2 separate regions of the Homo sapiens genome follow, and region 2 is linked to region 1. Evidence: promoter capture Hi-C in human tissues and cell types (Jung and others, 2019). All regions are on one chromosome and are shown on one strand. Each heading gives the region's core, a stretch centred on a gene start or on the middle of the fragment in contact. The rest is flanking DNA. Distances are from core to core; before and after follow the strand shown.

Evidence for each region. The method cuts DNA at HindIII sites, captures the fragments that hold promoters and counts their contacts. A contact is called where the count stands out against the background at its distance.
Region 2: a fragment that was not itself captured here is called in contact with the fragment with the promoter of FOXK2 in region 1 in 3 of the 25 tissues and cell types used here (H1 embryonic stem cells, dorsolateral prefrontal cortex and pancreas).

What each region holds. Positions count from the first base shown.
Region 1 is chr17:82,516,040-82,521,596 of GRCh38, forward strand. It overlaps FOXK2 (forkhead box K2), which reads left to right and starts at 3,693. Exons shown (of 9, transcript NM_004514.4): 1 at 3,693-4,268. The coding sequence starts at 3,850. RefSeq lists silencers at 3,113-3,772, 4,223-4,402, 4,483-4,532. The HindIII fragment of the contact is 19,651 bases long and covers 1-5,557 here.
Region 2 is chr17:82,630,385-82,635,845 of GRCh38, forward strand. It overlaps WDR45B (WD repeat domain 45B), which reads right to left. Exons shown (of 10, transcript NM_019613.4): 3 at 537-638. Among named protein-coding and RNA genes, the nearest start is that of WDR45B, 15 kb to the right of the region's middle. The HindIII fragment of the contact is 5,957 bases long and covers 1-4,412 here.

The sequences.
Region 1 (5,557 bases), core at 2,443-4,942:
CATCTTTTTTTGTTGTTCTTTTTTTCTTTTCTTTTTTTTTTGAGACAAAGTCTCACTCTGTCACCCAGGCTGGAGTGCGGTGGCACGATCTTGGCTCACCGCAACCACCGCCTCCTAGTTAAAGCAATTCTCCTGCCTCAGCCTCCTGAGTAGCTGGGATTACAAGCATGCGCCACCACGCCCAGCTGATTTTTTGTATTTTTAGTAGAGACAGGGTTTCACCATGTTGGGCAGGCTGGTCTTGAATTCCTGACCTTTAGTGATCCGCCTGCCTCGGCCTCCCAAAAGTGCTGAGATTACATGTGTGAGCCACCACACCCGGCCTGTTTTTTTTTTTTTTTTTTGGTTAAATGATACACTTCCTATTTATCATTTCCATAGTCATCTCAATGTCCCCTAAAATCCCTCTAATATGGCCGGGCACGGTGGCTTACACCTGTAATCCTGGCACTTTGGGAGGCCAAGGCGGGCGGATCACTGGAGGTCAGGAGTTCGAGACCAGCCTGGCCAATATGGTGAAAACCCGTCTCTACTAAAAATATAAAAATTAGCTGGGTGTGGTGGCACACGCCTGTAATCCCAGCTACTCGGGAGGCTGAGGCAGGAGAATCGCTTGAACCCAGGAGGCGGAGGTTACAGTGAGTAGAGATTGGGCCACCGCACTCCAGCCTGGGCAACAGGGTGAGACTGTCTCAAAAAAAAAAAAAAAAGGAAAAGAAAAAAAAATTCCTCTAATATATAAGTGAATATTTAATGAAACAATTTTTTCTGTCTAGGAAATCCTGCCAGAACACTTTGCACCTGTAGGAATTTGTACTATAATTACAAACACATATATGGCAATTAAGACATGTAAATGTAGGTCGGGCATGGTGGCTCACGCCTGTAATCCCAGCACTTTGGGAGGCCCAGGCAAGTGGATCACGAGGTCAATAGATCGAGACAATCCTGGCCAACAGGGTGAAACCTCGTCTACTAAAAATACAAAATTAGCCAGGCGTGGTGGTGAGCACCTGTAATCCCAGCTACTTGGGAGGCTGAGGCAGGAGAATCACTTGAACCTGGGAGGTGGAGGTTGCAGTGAGCCAAGATCGCACCATTGCACTCCAGCCTGGGCAACAAGGGCAAAACTCCACTCAAAAAAAAAAAAAAAAAAAAAAAAGACATGTAAATGTTACATTCAGAGGGACACATTAATTTCCATTTCTTTTAGAAAAAGTTTTTACACATTGAAGGAATAAAAATGCATGAACTGACCCTGATGTCTCCTGCCTGGGGCCCCCAGTTGGTGGTTCCTGTTCAGGATCTCCACTTTATCCTGCTCCGTTTAAGTCCAGTCTCAAGTCTTTCTACTCACACTAAACTCCTTTTGTACCTACATTATGATGATGATGATTATTTTCGAGACAGAGTCTGGCTTTGTCACCCAGGCTGGAATGCAGTGGTGCAATCTCCGCTTGCTTACTGCAATTTCCGCCTCCCGCGTTTAAGCGATTCTCCTGCCTCAGCCTCTCAAGTAGCTGGGATTATAGGCACGTGCCACCACACCCAGCTAATATTTGTATTTTTAGTAGATATGTGGATTCACCATGTTGGCCAGGCTGGTCTCCAACTTCTAACCTCAAGTGATCCACCCACCTCGGCCTCCCAAAGTGTTGGGATTCAGTCATGAGCCACCGTGCCAGGCCTCTGTACCTAAATTATATCATTTCTCTCTTCTAATTGTTCTTTGCTATTTAACAAGCAGCAAATAGAGGAACCCTGGGGTGTTTGCTATAACCTGTATATATAGGCTATAATAGGATCTTCTCCTCACACACCCTGCAGGAACCACCATGCTGAAAGAAGTGAGACAATTCAGGGGGCAGTCCCTCCCCAGCAGAGACTAAATTGGTACCATTTGTTGCTATTTCAGTTTTGCGAAGATGCGCGCTTGGAGCCCAAGCCATGGTTTCTAGGGCTGACACTGACTTCCCACGGAATTCTTCCTGTTTAAGAGGTTGTAGACTTTTCATGATCCTGAACCTTGAACGTCTCCACAACTGGTTAAGTACCCGTGAGATACATTTACAGGATTTTTTCTTTCTTTTCCCAATTTTTTTTTTTTTTTTTTTTTTTGAGACGGAGTCTCCTCTGTCACCCAGGCTGGAGGGCAGTGGCGTGATGTCTGCTCACCACAACCTCCGCCTCCCAGGTTCGAGCGATTCTACTGCCTCAGCCTCCCAAGTAGCTGGGACTGCAGGCACGCCCCACCATGCCTGGCTAATTTTTGTATTTTTAGTAGAGACGGGCTTTTACTATGTTGGGCAGGCTGGTCTTGAACTCCTGACCTTGTGATCCACCCGCCTCGGCTTCCCAAAGCACTGGGATTACAGGTGTGAGCCACCGCGCCCGGCCACAGGATTTTTTCTTTTTAATGTTAGGAGTTTCATTGATTAGTGAACATCTGGACTATTGATCATCTTGATTTAGATGGGATCTTGTAATTTTTTAAACGGTGGCGAAATTCTTTTTTTAAAAACTTAGTATCAGATTGGTTAAGATATTAACTATTCGTTCATGAGAGTTCATATATATATAGTTCATATATATATAGTTCATATATGTATATAGTTCATATATATAGTTCATATATATATAGTTCATATATATATAGTTCATATATATATATATAGTTCACATATATATAGTTCATATATATACATATGAGACGTAGTTTCACTCTTGTTGCCCAGACTGAAGTGCAGTGACGCGATCTCGGCTTACTGCAACCTCCACCTCCCAGGTTGAAGCAATTCTCCTGCCTCCGCCTCCCAGGTTTAAGCAATTCTCCTGCCTCAGCCTCCTGAGTAGCTAGGACTACAGGTGTGCACCACCACACCCGGCTATTTTTTTTTTTTTTTTTGTATTTTTAGTAGAGCTGGGATTTCACCATGTTGGCTAGGCTGGTCTCGAACTCCTGACCTCAGGTGATCCGCTCGCCTCGGCCTCCCAAAGTGCTGGGCTTACAGGCGTGAGCCACCGCGCCCGGCCTCGTGTATATTTTTAAACTGTGTGCTGACGACAGTTAAGTAAATGTGATTCAGAACTTCTGCGTATTTTGCAGGACAGTTTTGACACAATGACATGACTCGCTAGCCAGGAAAGATAACGACATCCAGTCCTGGAGCTGCTGGTTAAAAACGAACGTGTCACCGGGTCCCCTGGGTCTGAGGCCACGCGGCACGCGGCCCCTCCGCGATATTCCCGCACCTCGCGGGGAAAAGGCCGCTCGGCGGCCGGGCCTGGGCTCGCGGGCCGCCGCCTATCCGCACCCCGGCGTCCACGCCGGGTTGGGGGCCGCTGCGTGCCTGGCGCCCGCTGTGACCTTGGGCCTGGTCCCGCCCGCCGCGCCTAAGGCGCTGCCAGGCCGGGCTCAGACCCCCGAGCTCCCGCGCCCGCGCCAACCCCGCGCCAGCCCCGATCCCGCGCGGGCTGCCGACTGTCCGCCCCGGGTTTTCCGCGGCGCCCGGAGTCGGGACTGCGTCGGGCGTCGCCGCCGGACGTGCCGGCAGCTTGGTGCGACGTGTCTTGCCATTGGCCTGCTTCGGTAGCCCCACTGCCGTACGCCGCCCCCATTGGCCGGCGTAACCGTCCGTCAGCGAGGGGCGGGCCCGGCGTGCCGGCTCGGTGGCGCGGCCGCGCGTGCTCCCGCCCCTCGCCGCCGCTCGCTCGCTCGCCGGCCGGCGGCCTCCGCTCGGCCCCCTCCCTCAGCTCCGGTGCGCGGCGGCCGACGACCCGCGCGGCCTGGGCCTCGGCCCGCGCCACCGGCGCCCGCGCGGAGCGGCCCGGGGGCCCTCACGCAGGCCCATGGCGGCGGCCGCGGCGGCGCTCTCGGGCGCGGGCACGCCACCCGCGGGCGGCGGGGCCGGGGGCGGCGGGGCCGGGGGCGGCGGGTCCCCGCCGGGCGGCTGGGCCGTGGCGCGCCTGGAGGGCCGCGAGTTCGAGTATCTGATGAAGAAGCGCTCGGTGACCATCGGCCGCAACTCGTCGCAGGGCTCGGTGGACGTGAGCATGGGCCACTCGAGCTTCATCTCCCGGCGCCACCTCGAGATCTTCACGCCCCCGGGCGGCGGCGGCCATGGCGGGGCCGCTCCGGAGCTGCCGCCCGCGCAGCCCAGGCCCGACGCCGGCGGCGACTTCTACCTGCGCTGCTTGGGCAAGAACGGGGTATTCGTGGACGGCGTGTTCCAGAGGCGCGGGGCGCCGCCGCTGCAGCTGCCGCGCGTGTGAGTGGCCTCGGGGCGGGGCGGGCGGGGTCTGCGGCCTGCAGCGCCTGGCAGGACGGGACGGGACACGCGCCCAGGCCCGGGACCACCCACGAGCGGGGGCCCGACTCTCCCACAGCCGGGACCACCAGCGGGACCCAGGCCCCGGCTGGATCCCAACCCTCGACAGCCCCTGGCCCCGACCCCCGTCCTCCCGGTCCCCTTCCTGGCAGGTGCAGCCCCCCGTCTTTCCCCCTTCCTGGAGCCGGGGCTGCGGGCGGCTGCGCGCGCGGGTCAAGGTTTCTGGGTTCTGTGCGTGCGGGGAGTTCACGTGTGCTGTTTCTATTCTGCAGCGAGGTCGCGCTGAACAGAAATGTGAAAACGGTGTGCGGTGGGAGGAACTGCCCCGAACTAAAATCTATGTCTCTTAACCGATGAAGGGTTGTCTGTTGTCTTTTGTTGTTGTTGTTGTTCAGTCGTTTTCAGTAGTGAGCTGTTTCAAGAGTGCGGTGTTTTAAGCAGGAAGGACTCCTTTTTCCCTGCCGTGTTTTCAGTAGGCCAAATTGGAAGACGCTTCAAGCATGATGGATTTTCAATCTGTGCTCTGAACCTTAAAATTTAGGGAAAACTAGATGCTTTTCGCATAACTTCTACAAAAAGACAGTTGATTAGGAATTATTACAAGGTCATGTAGAGTGTTAAGTCAGCCTGATAGGGAACTGCCTATCCTGCTACAAAACAATTTAGCTTGGTCCTGTGGTTTTATGAAGTTATCGTTTACTCTGCTTGAAACACAAACTTGCTGTCTAGGAAATGCTAATTATTCCTCAGGGGCTCACTTCTAGATCATTGCAAGTACAGCCTTTGTCCACACAAACTGGAATTTTTTTGTTTTTTGTTTTTTGAGACGGAGGCTCACTTTGTCGCTCAGGCTGGAGTGTAGTGGCGCGATCTTGGCTCACTGCAATCTCCGCCCTTTGAGTTCAAGTGGTTCTCCTGCCCCAGCCTCCCGAGTAGCTGGGATTACAGGCGCCTGCCACCGCGCCCGGCTAATTTTTTGTATTTTTAGTAGAGACGGGGTTTCACCATCTTGGCCAGGCTGGTATTGAACTCCTGACCTCGTGATCCACCCGCCTCGGCCTCCCAAAGTGCTGGGATTACAGGCGTGAGCCACCGCGCCCGGCCTACAAATTGGAATTTTTAACGCTTTCGGTTGTTGGAGATGCTGGTAAGAGCTGTTGCTTTTCTTCTTGACTTGCGTGTTGTGTGTGTGTGCATGCGCTGTTCTGTTTCTTAGCATGGAAAGGTGC
Region 2 (5,461 bases), core at 184-2,683, 110 kb after region 1:
CAACAGCGAGGTTAAGCTGGCACGAGGCACACGGCTGTCAGGAAAGCTATCTACTCCTCCCTCTACTTAAAAGGGCCAGAGCTCTTACGCCACATCATCTGCATACACACACGTACTCCCACTCCGACAAACATATCCCGAAACCCAGAGCCCAAGTGGTGTTTTGTTCCACGTGGCTATGAAACTAATGTTCCTTTAAGTCAATGGCTCTCTGTAAGAAAAAAAATCCTTCTACCTTGCTTTAAAATGAATTCATGACATTTACGACGTCAACCTAAGGTGCAGCAGGCCCGTTTTCCGTTTACTGACTGAAACGCACGTGTTCTATGACAATGCAAGCGAGTGATGCTCTTTAGGTGCTCCATCTGGGAATAGAGACCTGGTGCCCTCTTCGCCTGCTTCCTCCCCAGTGACCAGTCCTGGATATTTCACAGAACTACTAGGGAAAATCACACATGGCCACAAACATAAACGCATTCAAAAAAAGACTGGGTGGGACACGTGAGGCATGATTCTTCAATACACAATTACAGTACCTTTGTTGGGAGGGTATTTCGGCTTTTTTCCACCACCAACTAAAGCTAAATAGTTGCAGCGAAATAACATTTCAACATGGCCAACTCCTCCTTCTAGAAATTCTGAAATGATAGTTTTAAAAAGACCAATGTTACAAGTTAATATGTATATTTTACAATAAAAAAGAAAAGAGAAAGTCAAGACAGGTAACGCAGCAATTTTCTATTTTTTGTAAGAGACAAGATCTCACTGTGTTGCCCAGGCTGGAATGCAGTAGCTATTCACAGGTACAATCACAGCTCACTGCAGCCTTGAACTCCTGGGCTCACATGATCCTCCTGCCTCAGCTTCCCAAGTAGCTGGGAATACAGGACTCATTTTTTTTTTTTTTTTTTTTTTTTGAGAAGGAGTCTTGCTCTGTCACCCAGGCTAGAGTGCAGTCGCGCGATCTCGGCTTACTGCAACCTCCACCTCCTGGGTTCAAGCCACTCTCCTGCCTCAGCCTCCCCAGGTAGTTGGGATTACAAGCATGTGCCACCATGCCCAGCTAATTTTTGTATTTTTAGTAGAGATGGGGTTTCACTATGCTGGCCAGGCTGATCTCAAACTCCTGAACTCAGGCGATCAGTCTGCCTCGGCCTCCCAAAATGCTGGGACTACAGACATGAGCCACTGTGCCCGGCCTACAGGACTCATTTTTAATCAGCAATTTATATCTAACTATCGTCAGAAATGAGAAAGGTGACTGGCTAAAAAAATAGTGAGTGCTAGGTTTCCAAATTCTCTCAGTTTACTGTCATCATGTTCACTGTTTCATAAAGGCTGAGCACACAACACCCTAGGAAGCTAACTCAGCAAAATGTATGAAATACTTGAATTCACATTTCAAGAGGTGGCAAAACCTGTCAACTCCAAGACAGCATACTAAAAGCTTTAATGCTTGGGAGGCTGAGGCGGGCAGATGATGAGGTCAAGAGACTGAGACCATCTGGGCCAACATGGTGAAACGCTGTCTTTACTACAAATACAAAAATTAGCCGGCGTGGTGGCAGGCACCTGTAGTCCCAGCCACTCAGGAGCTGAGGCAGGAGAATCACTTGAACCCCGGAGGCTGAGGCTGCAGTGAGCCGAGATCACACCACTGCACTCCAGCCTGGTGACAGAGCGAGACTCTATCTCAAGATAAATAAATAAAAACAAAAATAAAAACAAACCAAAAAAACCCCACAAAACTTTAATGCAAAAGCTGAGTGACTTTTATCATTTCCTTTTTTTTTAAGAAACAGGGTCTTGCTGTGTTGCTCAGGCTTGAGTGCAGTGAAGTGATCACAGCTCACTACAGCCTCAAACTCCCGGGCTCAAGGACTCCTCCTGCTTCAGCCTCCCGAGTAGCTGGGACTACAGGCACACATCACCGCGCCTGGTTAATTTTTTCAGAAAAGTTTTTGTAGAGGCGAGGTCATACTGTATTGCCCAGGCTGGTCGTGAACTCCTGGTCTCAAACAATCCTGCCATCTCAGCCTCCCAAAATGCTGGGATTGTAAGTGTGAGCCACCGAAGTCTGAAATGCTCCCAACTGTTCATGAATTACGTAAGAGGAAAATGTCCACAAATTTTCAGAGGTCTTCCATGACAAAAGGATGACCAATGCTCTCTGAGGGGAGCAACAGGGGCACACTGATGAGAAACTCCCACGTTCTGCATGGTTCACGTAACTCAGGAGGACCATCCACCCACCCACTTCTGTGTCTGCAATGACCATGAGCTCTATCTCTCCAGTCACAGCTGCACGAAATGACTCAAAAGTTCCTCAGCTCGATCTTCGAGATATTTAAAATTCAAGGCAGCCGGGCACAGTGGCTCACATCTGTAATCCCAGCACTTTGGCAGGCAGAGGTGGGAGGACTGCTTGAGCCCAAGAGTTCAAGGCCATCCTGGGCAACATAAGGAAATCCCTTCTCTACCAAAAATAAAAATTAAAAAATTCGCCGGCCGCAGTGGCTCACGCCTGTAATCTCAGCACTTTGGGAGGCTGAGGCAGGTGGATTACTTGAGGTCAGGAGTTCGACCTGGCCAACATAGTGAAACTCCGTCTCTACTAAAAATACAAAAATTAGCTGGCTGTGGTGGCAGGCGCCTGTAATCCCAGCTATATAGGAGTCTGTGGCAGGAGAATCGCTTGAGCCCGGGAGGCAGAGGTTGCAGTGAGCAAGGATTGCACCACTGCACTCCAGCCTGGGCGAAGGAGGGAGACTCCATCTCAAAAAAAAAAAAAAAAAAACCAGCACGGGCAATGTGCTTTTGGGACATCAAACTTTTGTGCACCAAAGGACACAATCAACAGAATGAAAACACAACCTATGGAACGGCAGAGCATATTTACAAACCACACATCTGATACAGTGCGTAATATCCAGAATATATGAAGGACTTTTACAACTCAACAATAAAAAAATTAATAATCTGATTTTAAAATTGGCAAAGGATTTGAGTAGTGTTTCTTCAAAGATAATTTACAAATGGCCAACAAGTACAAAGAAAGATGCTCAACTTCATTAGGCATCAGAGACATCAAAACCAAACCACAATGAGATCCCACCACCTCATACCCATGAAGATGACTAATTTTTTTTCTTTTTTTGAGACAGTGTTGCTCAGGCAAGTGCAGTGATGAGAACAGGGCTCACTGCAGAGGATGGCTAATATTGTTTTTTAACCCAGGAAATAACAAGTACTGGCCAAGATATGAAGCTATGGGAACTCTCATGCACTGTCTGATGCAGCTGCTCTGGAAAAAAGTAGGACAGGTCCTCAAAAAATTAAAAAGAGGCTGGGCACAGCAGCTCACTCACACCTATAATCCCAGCACCCTGGGAGGCCAAGGCAGGATGATGACTTGAGGCCAGGAGTTTAAGATCAGCCTGGGCAACACAGTGAGACGCTCCCTCAATTAAAAAATAATAAAAAGGCCAGGCGTGGTGGCTCATGCCTGTTATCTCAGCACTTCGGGAGGCAAGGCAGGTGGATCACTTGAGGTCAGGAGTTTGAAACCAGCTTGGCCAACATGGTGAAACCTCGTCTCTACTAAAAATTCAAAAAAATTAGCCAGGCGTGGTGGCAGGTGCCTGTAATCCCAGCTACTTGGGAGGCTGAGGCAGGAGAATCGCTTGAACCCGGGAAGCGGACGTTGCAGTGAGCCGAGATTGTGACACTGCACGCCAGCCTGGGTGACACAGTGAGACTCCATCTCAAAAAAAAAAAAAAAAAAAAAAAAGGCTGATTTTTATAAATCAAAAAGTTACCAAATGACCAGATGCAGTGGCTCATACCCATAAACCCAACACCTTGGGAGGCCGAGGCAGGCGAATCATGAGGTCGGGCGATCAAGACCATCCTGGCCAACATGGTGAAACCCTGTCTCTACTAAAAATACAAAAATTAGCCAGGAGCGGCAGTGCACATCTGTAATCCCAGCTACTCGGGAGGCTGAGGCAGGAGAACTGCTTGAACCCGGGAGGCGGAGGCTGCAGTGAGCCGAGATCTCGCCAGTGCACTCCATCCAGCCTGGGCGACAGGGCGAGACTCTGTCTCAAAAAAAAAGAAAAAAACAAAGTTACCATATGATCCAGCAATCCCACTTCTAGTCATACAAGCAAAAGAACTCAAGGCAGGGTCTGGAAGAGATACCCGCACACCCACGCTTGTAGCAGCATCATTCACAATAGCAAAGATGCAGAAGGACCCGAGTGTCCACAGATGGAGAAATGAACAAACAGCACGTGCTCCATACGTGCAGTGATTTATTATTCAGCCTTAAACAGAAACAATATTTCTCATTTATGATTTTGTCAAGATAAGGTCTCACTATGTTGCCCAGACTGGTCTCAAACTCCTGGCCTCAAGCAATCCTCCTGCCTCAGACTCTGAAAACACTGGGATTACAGGGGTGAGCTGCGGTACCCGGCCTGAAGTTCTGACCCAGGCTGCAACAGAGATCAACCTAGAGAACACTACACTAAGTGAAATAAGCCAGGCATATATGATGGCATTCACGGGAAGTCCCTACAGCAGTCAAGTTCATGGAGACAGAAAAGTAGCACGGTGGTTACTAGGAGACAGGGGAGGCAGAATTGATGGATGTAGACTTTGGCTTCCCAAGATGAAATTCTAGAGGTCCGTTTAACAACAATGTGAATATATTCAACATTACTGATCTATGCGCTTAAAAATGGTTAAGATGGTAAATTTTATTTTACATAATTTTTTACCATAATTTTTTTTTTAAAAAATGCTGCCACTGAAGACCTTCTTTGCCCCAGGTGTCAGAAGTGTAACTATTTCCTCAATGTAGGTTCAGTAAGTTTTAGAAACACATCTGAGTGACCTGAGAATTATGTCAAGGTCACTAATGTACTCTTCAAACACTATTTAACCGAGAGACAATGTTTAGCCCTTTTATAAACTACATGATCTTAGGCTTATTAATAAAGTTATTAATGCTTGATTATATCATAAGTCTTTTCAGGTTTTTTTTTTTTTTTTGAGATGGAGTTTTGCTCTTGTCGCCCAGGATGGAGTGCAGTGGTGCGATCTTGGCTCACTGCAACCTCCACCTCCTGGGTTCAAGTGATTCTCCTGCCTCAGCCTCCCAAGTAGCTGGGATTACAGGCGCCCATCACACCCAGCTAATTTTTGTATTTTTAGTAGAGACGGCGTTTCACCATGTTGGCCAGGCTGGTCTCGAACTCCTGACCTCAGGAGATCCACCCACCTCGGCCTCCCAAAGTGCTGGGATTACAGGCATTAGCCACTGTGCGCAGCCGTCTTTTCAAGTTCTAAAAGCAACAAGTCATTCCCTTAGCAAGATGTGATTCTAGCTAATGGTTAAGTAAAGAAATGTTGGCTGGGTGCAGGGGCTGACACCTATAATCTCAGCACTCTGGGA